Linked DNA regions of Homo sapiens: region 1 is linked to region 2. Evidence: promoter capture Hi-C in human tissues and cell types (Jung and others, 2019). All regions are on one chromosome and are shown on one strand. The core of a region is centred on a gene start or on the middle of the fragment in contact, and the rest is flanking DNA. Distances in the headings are between cores, read along the strand shown. Region 1 overlaps CRYL1 (crystallin lambda 1). Region 2 holds the start of IFT88 (intraflagellar transport 88).

Evidence for each region. Contacts are between HindIII fragments. The study calls those that stand out against the background at their distance.
Region 1: a fragment that was not itself captured here is called in contact with the fragment with the promoter of IFT88 in region 2 in 1 of the 25 tissues and cell types used here (lymphoblastoid cells).

The regions. Positions count from the first base shown.
Region 1 is chr13:20,414,843-20,422,316 of GRCh38, forward strand. All of the region lies in intron 5 of CRYL1 (crystallin lambda 1), which reads right to left. Among named protein-coding and RNA genes, the nearest start is that of MIR4499, 15 kb to the right of the region's middle. RefSeq lists enhancers at 436-1,017, 1,018-1,599, 4,185-5,384. The HindIII fragment of the contact is 3,613 bases long and covers 3,785-7,397 here.
Region 2 is chr13:20,563,099-20,570,873 of GRCh38, forward strand. IFT88 (intraflagellar transport 88) reads left to right here and starts at 4,059. Exons shown (of 26, transcript NM_006531.5): 1 at 4,059-4,158. LOC105370103 (a long non-coding RNA gene) reads right to left here and starts at 3,931. Exons shown (of 6, transcript XR_941725.3): 1 at 3,578-3,931; 2 at 2,403-2,452. RefSeq lists silencers at 3,759-4,168, 4,264-4,452. The HindIII fragment of the contact is 1,600 bases long and covers 2,699-4,298 here.

The DNA of each region.
Region 1 (7,474 bases), core at 4,341-6,840, 150 kb before region 2:
CTTGGGCATTTCCACTGTCAGGAGGGCGGACGGAGGGAAGCCGCCACCTTTTCCCCTACGCCTTCACGGCTCAGACAGGCAGCACTCCCGCGGAATCCGCCGCCCCAGGTCTCATCTGAGCGCTGTCTTTCACCAGAGCTCTGTAGGACTGAGGCAGTAGCGCTGGCCCGCCTGCGAGAGCCCGACCGTGGACGATGCGTCGCGCCCTTCCCATCGCGGCCTGGGCGGGCCCGCCTGCCCTCGGCTGAGCCCGGTTTCCCTACCCCGGGGCACCTCCCCTCGCCCGCACCCGGCCCCAGTCCCTCCCAGGCTTGCGGGTAGAGCCTGTCTTTGCCCAGAAGGCCGTCTCCAAGCTGGGGGCTTGCTCCGCCCGGAGGGCTCTGCGGGGACCCTGGCACAGCGGCCTGCAGGGAGGCACCCTCTGCCCTGCTGCGAGCCTGGGGCGCCTGGGCCTGGCCTCGAGGTTCCTGGGCCTCCAGGGCAGCCCCAGGGGTCCCCCGAGAAGCGAGAAAAGGGGTTCGAAACCCCCGCCGTGCCCCGCAACCGGCTGCGGCGGGCGACAGCCAGGTGCCTCAGGTCCGTGTGCTGGCTTGGACACCGCCCTGCGTCTGCAGAGAGCGCGGCGGTGAAGCGGGAGCAGGCGGCCTGGCCCAGGAGCCAGGACGGCCACAGCCACGCCACCACCGGCGAGGGCGAGGGCCAGGGCCACTCACTGTGACCCGCGACTCCCTTTTAGAGAGCCACTTTGCGTTTCGTTTTGTTTGCGCACACGGGACACAAGCATATCGAGGCTGAACAAGCCACAGTCCACGTTTCCAGGAGAATTACAAAGCAAACGCTTGGCCTCGCCTGCCGCAGACTCCGCCCGCTTCTAGAGGCCCGCACCCTGACTCCTGCAATTGCGGCTTTCCCGCTTTTCAGACTGGCCGCCCGTGTTCACATTCCTCAGCTGCAGCGTTTGCTGCTGGCCCATTTCTAATCTTCCTGTAAGTGGAATCACTGAGCGCGCGTTCTTTCGTGACTTGTCTCTCACCATCCTGTTTCTCAGATTCACCTGCGTCATGTGTCCATCTCCTTGATGCAGAGATATGAGTTTAGTCATCCACCCTGCGGCCATGAGCCTTTGGCTAGTCTGGGGCTCCTGTGAGCAGGGCAGCCAGGGTCACGCGCACAGGGCCCGGGCCGCGGCTGGGGCCCAGAGCATCCTTCTCCCCGTCACTGCGGCGCCCCGGCCTCCAGAATTGTGTAGAAGAGGTCCCGTCGCGCCTCAGCCTCGCCACGCTTGGTGTCCTCACCCTTGCAAAGTTTCGCTAATCTGGTAGGGTGAAATGGTATCTCACCAGGTTTCCTTCGAGTTCTAAATCACCCTACCACATGTTCACTGACTGCTAAGGAGAGTGAATCAGTCTGTGCAAGTCACTGCAATGCTGAGGAGGGTCGCCTCCTTTCACTCCCAATAGCGAAGCTGTAACGGGTCGGGGCATCACGGGGGCTGGGGGATATCTACCTAAGGCCCACAGAAACTCCCGGAACCGTCAAGAATCCCGTGTGGAACACAGGCATTGTCGCCTCCTCTCCCTGGCAGGAGGTCTGGAGGCAGGAAGGGTGGCTCCCTGCCCTCTCTCCAGGCTGCTGGAAGGCCTGGGCTGTGGCCCCTCGCACCCCCGTGGGCTCTGGAATGCTGTGAAAGGCAGCCAGGCGGCCTGCAGTCGCTCCCTCACCCTTGCTTTCCAGGCCAACATTCCAAACAGCCCCAAGTTTTCATTTTAGTATTCAAACTGGGAAGTATGCAAACATGGAAGCCACCCTATACTTGCAGTGTTATTTGGCTTGGCTCTTTTAGAATCGTATTTAGTATTTTTAGAGCTGATTTTTAAAAAATCATTTTTAGGATTGCAAAATAGAAAAAAGGTGAGCCACTCAAGAGTAGGTCCTTTTTGGTTTGTATCATCTGAGCTAACAGCCCCTAACTAACGCCTGAGAAGGGTTCTCCATGCTGCCCCATGACCTGGGAGGAACCACATTCCCTCCAACTCCCATGTTCTCAGTTCTGCCTGATTTCATCTAGAGGAGGGCTGTGGGTCTTCCATCAGTCACTATTCACCAGTAGAACAAGTTAGAAAGGGAAAAACGTTTTGATACTTTCCCTTCCTCACTGCTTCTTTCTGCCCATTTGAATTTCTGAAATGGATTTCTCAAAGCTTGAGTTTTTACCAAGAAGCTAAATATAGAGAAAGAAAAGGACCACAAGGCATTCAGTTGAGAAGCTCCACAACTAGGATATCATGTCCCCAAGGCAAACGTTTGAGTTTCTCCCTGCTGCACTTGGTGCTGAACTAAAGCTTTTCCATTTAGGATGTTTTGAAGCTCAGGTTGCTTAATTTTGCCACTGAGCTTAATTCCACCCAAAGCCTTGTGACATCTGTGGCCTAATATTATCATAACAATGACAAATAATCATTTGTCATTGATAAATAATCGCAGCAGCATGACAGGCAGAAACAAGTGCTTGTGTTGAAACAGGGAACTGACAAGCGATTCCTTATAATAGGTGACGGGCAACACAGCTGTGCGGAGATGGGAACCCTACCTGAGTCCAGCCCTTCTGTGGTTCTGTTAACATTGATCAGTTTAGCAATCAGTACTTACTCCATTTTAAGGTAAAATTCTCAAGTCACACATACAAAGAAAAGATTATTTAAAAATCATACAAAGCAATGAATACTACAATCACTGTTAGTTCAAAACATGGTTTCGCGTCCTGAAAATCATTGGGCAAAGAGATCCCAGACAGTGTTAAGGAACCCCTTTTATTGAAAAACTCCTTGCTTCTGCTTCCTTAGTTAAAACCTGAGATTTTTCCACAGTGGAGTAACACATGCATAGCTGGGGCACATATTTTGCACCTGATTTGGTAGGAGAAAATGCCCAGGCTGAGAGGAGCCACAAGACATCCGTGAAGTAGGAGAAAATGCAAGATAGTTAATAACGTACCCAACTGCTATGAAACAAATGTTAAGTCGAATGAAAGGTTTAGGGATGTATCACTCAGGGTTCTACCAGACAAAGCCAGTAAGATTCACACACATACACACATACATCAAGAGATTTATTTCAAGGAATTGGCTCATGTGACTGTGGGCCTGGCAAGTCAGAAAGCCATGGACAGGCCATCAGGAGGGCAGGCCGGCAACTCCAGGCAGGAACTACCCCACAGTCTGCAGGTGGAATTTCTCCTTCCTCAGGGAGATCTCAGTTCTGCTTGCAAGGCCTTTCAATGGACTGGATTTAGCCCACCCAGACTATGGAGAATAATCTCATTTACTTAAAGTCAACTATGTACCAAATACCTTCCCAGCAACATCTAGACTGAGTTTGACTGAGTGACTGGACGCTCTAGCCTGGCCGAGCTGACCCTCTCAGGGGACAGATACCCTCAGGGATCTTGGATCAAGCACTTCTGTTTGTTTGTGGGGTGGGGATGGGGAGAAGAGGAAGCAAGACACATCTAACAATTAACAATAGCAAAGGGTTAACAGATGCTGTGGTACTTACTCTGGTCCTTCGGACAGTCCCAGAAGAAGAGGAAGGCAGGAGAGAAACTTGTGTGGTGGAGGCACACGATATTTGATGGATAAATCCTCCTCCGTGACTATCTCCTCTACTGATCACCAGCTACACCGAACCATCTTTCCTTCTCTATAATCATCCCATTCCTAGATTTAATTTTCTGATTCATGTATTTTTTGCATGGCCTCATTTTCATTTGCTTTTCTCATTTTTCTTCATACCATTCTTCCTCATCCACTTCTTTTTTACTAATTCCCAGCTTTTGATCTTCTATTTTGTTTTGCTCTACTTTTCCCCCAAACTTGGTCCTGAATTTTCACATTTTTCTTGTGCAAACACTACAATAACTTTACTACTACTATCACCAGCAGGAACACAGACTTGCTACCCAGGAATTTGGATGAGGTTCTATTCAAGTTCTTCCACTCCTCAGCTAGAGTTTGGGCATAAGTCCACTGTCAACTGAGAAACAGGAGAAAAATTAAGAGTCAGGAGTCACAAAAGGTTTTATCTTAGGTGAGTGTCAAATAAAGAAACGCAACAGCGAGAAGTAGAGTACTCTGCCACCTTCAGCCCTACGAGGGCGACATGAAGAAAGCACTGGGCTTGTGTGGATCACCCCAGGGCAGCGGCCAAGAAGAAAGGATTACACCAGCACGTCCATCTCAATCTCTAGTGAAAGAAAGGATGGAACAAAGTTAAATCTCGGTGATTTTCTCATCTCCAGAGATGTTCAAGGACAGACCCAGACAAGAACAGTCACTTGCACAGAAGTAACTCGAGCATGAGCTAGGGTACTAGACTATCCCTCTGAGAAACATCCAGCCCTAGGGTCCTTGCAAATGCTACAGGGAGTAACAGAGTTAGAGATTAAGTTTATTATTATTATTATTATTTTGAAATGGAGTTTTGCTCTTGTTGTCCAGGCTGGAGTGCAATGGCAGGATCTCGGCTCACTGCAACCTCTGCCTCCCAGGTTCAAGCGATTCTCCTGCTTCGGCCTCCAAATAGCTGGGATTACAGGCATGCGTCACCACGCCCAGCTAATTTTGTATTTTTAGTAGAGACACAGTTTCTCCATGTTGGTCAGGCTGGTCTCAAACTCCTGACCTCAAGTGATCCACCCGCCTCAGCCTCCCAAAGTGCTGGGATTACAGGTGTGAGCCACCACATCTGGATAATTTTGTATTTTTAGTAGCGATGGGGTTTCTCCATGTTGGTCAGACTGGTCTCAAACTCCTGACCTCAAGTGATCCACCCAGAGTGCTGAGATTACAGGTGTGAGCCACCACATCCGGCCTAGATTAAGTTTATATTGAGAACTACCACAATGATTCATGAGTCTCTCATGAGAAACTAGTTGGAATTATGAGTTTGTTCCCTCCACTTATACATACTGTACCCACATGTTTTCGTTTTCTATACTCTTCACCACATGTTGCTTCCCCCACATGCAACAGGAAACTGGCTCCACGGCAAGGGTGAAAAAGATCTGACCCAGTGGTTCCCACCCACGCCACCTTCCAGGGAGAAGGTGAGGCCAAGATGAGACTTTAATAAGTCGAAAATAAAAGACTGCTAAGTGCTGCCCCACAATTACTCACAGGCTTGTGGTCAGGTTTGTGAGCTGCTTGGCCTGTTGCCGGCACTTACAAGCTTTCTTGGAAGCAAGACACAGACATTCCTGCGGAATGACTTGAGCAAATTTTGCTAACGCTACAAGGGTTGATTGAACACCACCACATTGAACTGATGCAAGAGGACACTGAATCACACCCATAAAACACCCGTCCTGTCAAGAGTCTTCCAAGAGGACGCGCAGGAGTCAGCGCTCCGGGGAAAGAAGATGAGAAACACCAGGTGGACCACCCTGGCCAGGCTGCTGGGAACAAGCCTACGTGCACAGCTGCCGGAGGAGAGGCGGGTCTCCCCTCTGGGAGGCATCTCAGCTACATCTATCAAGTTATAAAAATGTTACTCTCCCGCAGGCTGAGCCCACTCCCAGAATTATTCCAGAAAAGACTCCAGAAGAAGAAACCATATGTGCATAGAGGCTCACTGAGGCCTGACCTTAAAACATCCCGCAGTAAGGGAAAGATTGGATTTAAAAGAAAAAAAAAAAAGACCAGCTAAATGAAATATCATAAAGCCATTAAGAATGAATAAAAACTTGAGTAGCATGTTCATAATAGAGACTAGACAGGAACAAAGGAAAATGAAAGCAATTGACTTAGGGTAGAGCAAACACAGGTGGAGTTTTTCCCTTTGACTTTTCTTTAAAATAGAGGTTGTGTGTGTGTGTGTGTGTGTGTGTGTGTGTGTGTGTGTGTGTGTGTGTTTTGAGACAGAGTCTCACTCTGTCGCCCAGGCTGGAGTGCAGTGGCGTGATCGCAACTCACTGCGACCTCCGCCTCCTGGGTTCAAGCGATTCTCCTGCCTCAGCCTCCCAAATAGCTGGGACTACAGGCCCGCCACCACGCCTGGCTAATTTTTTGTATTTTTAGTAGAAACAGGATTTCATTGTGTTAGCCAGGATGGTCTCGATCTCCTGACCTCATGATCCGTCCGCCTTGGCCTCCCAAAATCCTGGGATTACAGGCGTGAGCCACTGCGCCCAGCCTAAAATAGAGCTTTTAAATAGAAACAAACAAACAAAAAAAAAAATGGAAAGGAAAGAGAGGAAAGACTTTGCCCTAATAAAAGGGACATTCCAGAGTACTTCAGGCCCCAGTGCTAATTCCCTGGTGCACTTTTTCTTAGAACACTGTGTGTATAATGATGCTTTTAGGGGGAAAAACAACAGTATTATAGAGTTTGAAAGAAAGGGAAAGCCTCGACTTTTACAACAAATACAACAGCAAAAAGAATCCATCATTGTGTATGAATGTGAATACATTCACTTCCATTCTATGAGGGTAGTGATACTTTAATTGAGGGGTCCTCTGGGAATACAGTTTACTACAATAAGTTTTGAACCAAAGAGTGTAAGCCCTGACTCCAAAAACAGCCATGGAGCACAAGCCCCATATCTGCCTACTCCCCACATCTTTACCCAGAGATGCTTCCTGCCTTGATGGCCCATAGGGCTCCAGTGGCCTCTCACCTGGCTTCTACCTGCAGCTGATGGAAGGCACAAAGGCTGGCTCCCACAAGGGAAGAGGGATGCAGTGTCATTTGTCACCTCCCACCTCTCTTCTCTTTGCCTTTTCTCTTGGGGGCTCCTTACCCCCATCCTCTACTTCTGGGGACCCTTACCCCTGGCCTGTTAACTTCCCAACTTCAAACTGAGGGAGCTGAAATCCATCATTTATATTCACTGCTCAAGCACCTATTGGTAATGATTGCTAGAAGGTGTTATAGTAACAGCATTTTCATTTATTTATTTATTTATTTATTTATTTTTAGAGTTAGAATACTAACATAGAAGCTTTGCAGCATTTTGGGGATTTTTAATGAGTATGTGGTTGATGTTATTTATTTGCTTATTAATGGGGATACAGGTATCTCTAAATTCATAAATCAGCAGTATCTCTCTTTTCAATAGGGTTTTGTTGCTCACCAATATGACTACTCAGAAAATGGCCACCCACAAAATAATAAATAATGGTATAAAAATAGTCTACTTCTTATGGAAAATTGCTGCTAGAAAAAAAATCCTAATTAAGGCCAGGCGCGGTGGCTCACACCTGTAATCCTAGCACTTTGGGAGGCCAAGGCAGGCCGATCATTTGAGGTCAGGAGTTCAAGACCAGCTTGGCCAACATGGAGAAACCCCATCTCTACTAAAAATACAAAAAATTAGCCAGGCATGGTGGCATGCGCCTGTAGTCCCACCCACTTGGGAGGCTGAGGCAGGAGAAGCCTTTGAACCTGGGAGATGGAGATTGCCATGAGCCGAGATCAC
Region 2 (7,775 bases), core at 2,809-5,308:
CCTCCTGAGTAGCTAAGACTACAGGTGTGGACCATCACACCTGGCTCATTTTTATTTATATGTAGAGACAGGGTCTTGCTATGCTGCCCAGGCTGGTCTTGGACTCCTGGCCTCAAGCAATCCTCCCACCTTGGCACCGAAGTGCAGGTACAGATGTGAGCCACCATACCAGGCCTGAGGATCTTTTCTCTGAGCTTTATTAATACAATTGTATATACTCAGCAGCTGCCTAGTCAACATCTCTATTTGCATATTTTACAGGCATCTGAAACTCAACATATTCAAAACTAAACTCATTTTCTCTCTCAAACTTGCATCTCCTCCAGTATTCTCCATGGTAATACATGGTGCTAGCATTCATCCCATTACTCATGCCAAACTTGGGATTCATGCTTGCTGCTTACTACCCATTCACCCCCAACTCTCTATATAATTAATTACAAGTCCTGACAATTCATTCGATTAACAATTATTGAGAGTCAACTAGTTCCAGGCACTTTTCTAAGTACTGGAGATACAGTCTAGAACAAAAAAGACAAAAACGCCCATTCTCTGTGGAGCTTGAATTTCAGTAATATAAGCTAGGTGACCCTAACATTTTGCCTGGCAATAATAGGTGTGTTCATTAAATGCTAGCTACATAATGATGTTTAAAATGAAGGTGAATGAGCACTCCCTGGGCAAGTAACTGTATCACACCCAAAGAGCAACCAAGTTGAGGCCGGGTGCGGTGGCTCACGCCTGTAACCTCAGCACTTTGGGAGGCAGAGGCGGGCAGATCACAAGAGGTCAGGAGTTCGAGACCAGCCTGGCCAACATGGTGAAACCCCATTTCTACTAAAAATACAAACAATAGCTGGGTGTGCTGGCTTATGCCTGTAGTCCCAGCTACTCAGGAGGCTGAGGCAGGAGAATCATTTGTACCCGGGAGGCAGAGGTTGCAGTGAGCTGAGATGGTGCCAGTGCACTCCAGCCTGGGTTACAGAGTGAGACTCTGTCTCAAAAAAAAAAAAAAAAAAGTAACCAAGTTGAAGTAACTTGAATTTGTTTCTAATTAAAAAGATTTTTTTGAGGAGACTGAAAATTTACAGTTTGGAGATCCAGAGATAATGGAAATTGTGTCTATAGAGGGACAGTAACTTGAAATAAGGCTCCCCGGTATTCACTAATTAATTCAACAAATATTTCTTGGAACAACTGCTATGAGCTGGGTATAGTATGGCTAGATACTATTCAGAATCATGTTAGATTTTACCCTACTTGCAAGCTAACAAGCTCATCTAACAGCTCCACAAATGATGGCAGAAAACACCTGAGTCAGAGAGAAAGGGCTTTATTTTTCACAGCACAGCCAGTAGCCTGGGCTTCATATTCCCTTCGGTTCCCCTTTCCCTTCCAAGTCCCATGGGGACAGTCCAGGTGGATGCTGCACATGTGATTGGTTTTACCGCCCAGGTACACCAAGTTTAGGAAAGCCCAGTCTTGAACAGTGAACTGCAAGCCAACATGCTCAGCCTTTGCCCCAGAAGGTGACACTCTCTTTATTAAACTGAACAGCAACAAACCTGTCTTTTGTTCCAGAAGCAGACAATTATCTTAATCTTCCAAAGCTGTTCCTTGAAAGGGTATATTAATCAGAATTCCCTACAGAAACAGATCCAATAGGATGCATATTGCAGAGAGAGATTTATTTGAAGGAATTGGCTCAATCAATTGGAGGCTGGTGTTAGATATGAGTTCTAAATTTCTCTTCGAAGAATCAATGTCAGTATGTTCAATTCTTTGTCTTCTACTTTTAAACTTAACTTCTGGCCAGATGCGGTGGCTCACACCTGTAATCCCAGGAGGCCGAGGCGGGAAGATCATGAAGTCAGGAGATGGAGGCCATCCTAACACGGTGAAATCCATCTCTACTAAAAATACAAAAAATAAGCCGGGTGTGGTGGCGGGCACCTGTAGTCCCAGCTACTCGGGAGGCTTAGGCAGGAGAATGGAGCAAACCCAGGAGGCAGAGCTTGCAGTGAGCCGAGATGCCGCCACTGCACTCCAGTCTAGGCTATAGAGCGAGACTCTGTCTCAATTAAAAAAAACAAAACAAAACAAAAAAAGCTTAACTTCCTCGTAAAGCAATCTTTTTCAACTACCTGCTCCACCCTGACTCATTCTGATTACCTGCTCTGCCCTGACTCATTCTCCACCCTGACTCATTCCGATTTCCTGCTCTGCCATAACTATTTTTCCCACCAAACCACTTACCCGGTCACTCTCTTTAAATTAGTCAATCAGAATTAGTTTAGCCTGTGCCGTCTAACCTTAGCCAACAGGGGAAGGACACAGCAGCAGGTGCCACAAGCGTCAGGAATAAAAACCCCTTCGCCTCCCTTGTCCAGGTGTGTGCTCACCATTGCTCCATCTGTGAGGGCGCACCCTTCTATAGAAGTAAATTGCCTTGCTGAGAAGGAAAAAAGAAAATTTTATAGTTGAGTGCTATTTCTTTTGCGGCACCAAAACTTTATTTATAATGCTGGCAAGCCTAAAATTTGTAGGTCAAGTTAGAGACCCAGGAAAGAGCTGAAGGCAGTCTGGGGGCAGGATTCCTTCTTCCTCAGAGGACCTTAGTCTTTTCTCTTATGACCTTCCCTTGACGGGATGAGGCCAACCCACCTTGTGGAGGACCAACTGCTTTACTCAAGTCTAATTTAACTGTTAATCACATCTTAAAAAATACCAGCTATCATAGTACTCCAGAACAAAGGCAGTCAGTGTCTCTGCTCACAAAACACGGGAAAGTGCAGGTGACCCATGGAGAATTGTCCCCCAACACTATGTTTTTTCTTTTTTTGGATGGAGTTTCGCTCTTGTCACCCAGGCTGGAGTGCAATACCACCATCTTGGCTCACTGCAACCTCTACCTCCTGGGTTCAAGAGATTCTCCTGCCTTAGCCTCCTGAGTAGCTGGGATTTATTACAGGCGCCTGCCACCTCGCCGGGCTAATTTTTGTATTTTTAGTAGAGACAGGGTTTCACCACGTTGGCCAGGCTGGTCTCCAACTCCTCACCTCAGGTGATCCGCCAGCCTCAGCCTCCCAAAGTGCTGGGATTATAGGCATGAGCCACTGCGCCCGGCCAACACTACTTATTTTATAAAAACTCATTAATTACTGGTGTCTTTAGACTCCCTCTGTCCCTCCCCTCCATCCCCAACATTTACTTTTAAAATTTAAGACAAAACTTAAACATTAAACAATTATGAATTTAATTCCCCCATTTATATTACATTGATTAAGCTTTACACTATGACCCAGGTTCTAGGTGGTTGGGACACAATGGTTCAATCCCTGTCTAGTAAATAAAACGGACACCTTAAGCGCTACAATCAAGGTGCGCACGGGGTGCTACAGAACAATACGCAGACAGGAGGAGGTGGGGGGAAAGGTGAGACTTCCCAGGCAGGTGTCATCCCAGAATAACTTTTACACAGGGTGACTAAGCGAGTTAGTGACTGCGCGGAAAACGGGCTTCCAAGGTTCACAAGGCTCGTGCTGCGGCTCCGGGAGTTATGTCACAGTAAGCTTACTATCATCCTTTGGGCATCTGCTTTACGGATGAGTTCATCAGGATTTAAAGGATCTTGGTTCCATATCCTTCCCCTTCCTCACAGAGGCCGCCAGCCCGGAGCCCCTCTAGGCCCTCCTCCCTCCTGCATCTACTGGCCGCGAGCCTTTCCCTCCCCGCCCCCTTCACACAGGCCGCCCCCAGCCTCCCAACCCCCCGGTTCCGTTCCACGGGAGGCCCCGGCCTCCCTGCCCTCTCCTCCACCGTTCTACCCGCATCGCCCGGCTTCCCGCAAGCCGCTGGCACCGTCCCCTCAACACCCTCCGCCCACCGCCACTCCCTTCCACTGAGGGGGACCGGGCTGCCTTCTCTCTGACCCGCCGTTCTCCGCCCCCACCCACTTCCCCAGGCCTCCCGCACCACCCCCTTCCCGCCGCGCTCTCTCCCGCCCCCGCGCTTCCGGCCCCGCCCGCCCCCGCGCGGAGGACTGTGGGAGCGGCTTCCTTGGATTCCGCGCTTGGCAACGGCTCGGCGTCGCGCTTTGGCCAACCGCTGCGTCGTCCCTGGGCCCGAATAACTGTCGCCCGCTTCCCTCAGCGTGAGGTAGGAGAAGGGCGCTGGGGCCTAGTGCCTCAGGGCCCCTGGCAGCCGTGCCCCTGCGGCGTCCTGTGTGGCGCATCCCGCCGAGGGCCTCTTCGCCCGTCTCCTGCCCGCCCCTGTCGGCCCCGGGGCGGTCTGAGGCGGGGCCCCAGATGGACTCGGCCTGCCCCTGCTTTTCTTCCTCAGGCTCCCGAGTTGTCTACTCAGAAACGCGGGCGTTGTTTCTCACATCGGTGTCCCCAGCTCACAGGCTTTTCTTGCTCCTCTGAACTGGGACGGGCGTCGCTGACCGCTTGGCGATGTCCCAAGTCCCAGTCACGCCTGACGGGGAAACTTAAAACCCAGTTAGATTACTGCGCCAGCTCTGGAATCGCACAGCAGAGATGGTGCACATCGCTCTTTAATTTTCTTGTTAGGTGAAGCACTTCAAATTGCCTGATGAAAGTTGAATCAGGAATGAAGATAAAAGTACACAACAATGCAGAAAGCGGTACTTAGCCTCACAAAGATGGAAACATTCCAAAAACGTGAAGTACTGTTGTCCCAAGATTCTTTCTAAGCCTAAAATTACACTTTTACTAGTCCGATTTTCTGGTTGTGAGTTTTTTTTGTTTGTTTTTTTTTTTTCGAGAAACTGCAGTAGGCTTCTTGGAAGTAGACCAAGGGTGTCCAATCTTTGGCTTCCCTGGGCCACATCGGAAGAAGAATTGTCTTGGGCCACACATGAAATTCACAAACACTAAGGTAGCCGATGAGCTTTAAAAAAAATCGCAAAAAAGAATCTCATAATGCTTCCAGAAAGTTTACGAATTTGTGTTGGGCCACATTCAAAGCCGTCCTGTGCCACGTGCGGGCCGGGGTTGGAAAAGCTTGAAGTAGACTGTCCATAGTCAGTAGAAGAGTATTAAAAAACATACCTTTCACTTAAAAAAAAAAAAGGTTTTGCCAGCATTTGATTTATATTAAACATAGGTGGCATCATCCCCAGATTATTTCAACATGGAAAAGTTTGTTACATGTATAAGCTGCTTTGGAAATTGCCTGGAGAATCCAGAAACCCTGGGTTGTATAACAACAGTTGTTCTGCCACCCATAGCTATTAGCCATGCTTGATTCCCTTCAACTTTCCTGGCCTCACTTTCCACATCTTTTAATATTTGTATGTTCCACAAGATGTCTATTCAACTAAAGTCTCAAGTCAAACCTTTTAAAAATCTGGTTACAACCTAGCAGAAAGGATTTCTCATTCTAAAAGTTGCTTCCTTCTATAACTTATGTGTCAACTAAGCTGACTTAAATAGGGTTCATAATCAGAAATTATGGTTCAGAATAGTGGTTCTCAAAGTGGTCCCCAGACCAGTAGCCTCAGCATCACTTGGGTTTAAGAACCACTGGTTTAGTATTATCTGAGCTAAAGCTTTTAATTAAAAATATTTTATATATCTTTTACCAGTGACTTTTAATACCTTTTTTTTTCTTTTTGAGACGGAGTCGCACGCTCTGTTGCCCAGGCTGGAGTGCAGTGGCGGCAATCTCGGTTTACTGCAAGCTCCGCCTCCCGGGTTCATGCCATTCTCCTGCCTCAGCCTCCCGAGTAGCTGGGACTACAGGCGCCCGCCACCATGCCCAGCTAATTTTTTGTATTTTTAGTAGAGACGGGGTTTCACCGTGTTAGCCAGGATGGTCTCGATCTCCTGACCTCGTGATCCGCCCGCCTCGGCCTCCCAGAGTGTTGGGATTACAAGCGTGAGCCACGACGCCTGGCCCTTTTAATAACCTTTTGAAGCTATTTTGGAATGCCATTTCTATGTGGGTGACATTTGCCCTCATAGTAGTTAATTTTCATCTTCAAAAAGTAATGAGAAATTAACTCAAAATGGATCAATGACCTAAATATAAGAGCTAAAACTGTTAGAAAAAAAGCATAGGTATAAATATTCTTGACCTTAGATTAGGCAGTTCTTTCTTAGATATGATACCAAAAGTACGTGCAACCAAAGGAAAAATAAATTGTATATCATCAAAATTTAAAACTTTTGGCCAGGCGTGGTGGCTCACGCCTGTAATCCCAGCACTTTGGGAGGCCGAGCCGGGCGGATCACGAGGTCAGGAGATCGAGACCATCCTGGCTAACACGGTGAAACCCCGTCTCTACTAAAAATACAAAAAATTAGCCGGGCGTGGTGGCGGGCGCCTGTAGTCCCAGCTGCTGGAGAGGCTGAGGCAGGAGAATGGCGTGAACTCGGGAGGCGGAGCTTTCAGTGAGCCGAGATCGCGCCACTGCACTCCAGCCTGGGTGACAGAGCGAGACTCCGTCCCAAAAAAAAAAAAAATTTTTTTAAACTTTTGTGCTTCAGAGGATAGTACAAAGAATGTAAAATGATGTACAGAATGGGAGAAAGTATTTGTAAATCATTTATATAATGTTTAGTATCAGGAATATATACAGGATCCTTATAATTCATGTGATAACCTGATTTTTGGGAATGAGCTGGCCGGGCGCGGTGGTTCACGCCTGTAATCCCAGCACTCTGGGAGGCCGAGGTGGGCGGATCACAAGGTCAGGAGATCGAGACCATACCGGCTAATACGGTGAAACCCCATCTCTACTAAAAATAAAAATAAAAATAAAAATAAAAAAATTAGCCGGGCTTGGTGGCGGGTGCCTGTAGTCCCAGCTACTCGAGAGGCTGAGGCAGGAGAATGGCGTGAAACTGGGAGGCGGAGCTTGCAGTGAGCCGCGCCACTGCCCTCTAGCCTAGGCGACAGAGCAAGATTCCGTCTCAAAAAAAAAAAAAAATGAGCAAAAGATCTGAACAGACATTTCTCCAAAGAGATATAGAAATGGATAATAAGCAGATGAAAAGATACTCAACATCATTAGTCATCAGGGGAATGCAAGTCAATACTACAATGAGATACCATTTCATACTCACTAGAATTGCAATAATCAAAAACAGGAACAGTAACAGATGTTGGCTAGGACATGGATAAATTGGAAACTTCATGCATTGCAGGTGGGATGTAAAATAGTGCAGCCACTTTGGAAAACAGTCTAGCTGTTCCTCCAAAAGTTAAACATAGAGTTACTATATGATCCAGCAATTCCTTTACTAGATATATTCCCAATAGAATTGGACCTATATATGCATGCTAAAACTTGTACACACACATTCATAGTGATGTTATTCATAAAAGTCAAAAAGTGGAAACAATTCAAATGTCCATTAACTAATGAATGGATAAGCAAAATGTTGCAGATGTATTTAGCCATAAAAAGTAATGAAATATTGATACATACTACTGCGTGGATGAACCTTGGAAGCATTATGCTAAGTGAAAGAGACCAGACACAAAAGGCTACATATTGTGTAATTTCCTTAATATGAAATGTCCAGAATTGGCAAATCCATAGAGACAGAAAATGGTTGCCAGGGACTGGGGAAAGGGAAGGGAGGCATGGAGAGCTGCTAACAGGCCCCATATTTCTTTATGGGATGATGAAAGTGTTCTGGAATTACATACTGGGGATGGTTGCACAACCTTGTGAATATACTAAAAACCACTGCACCTTGAAAAGTTAAATTGTATGGTATATGAATTATAGTTCAAAAACTAAT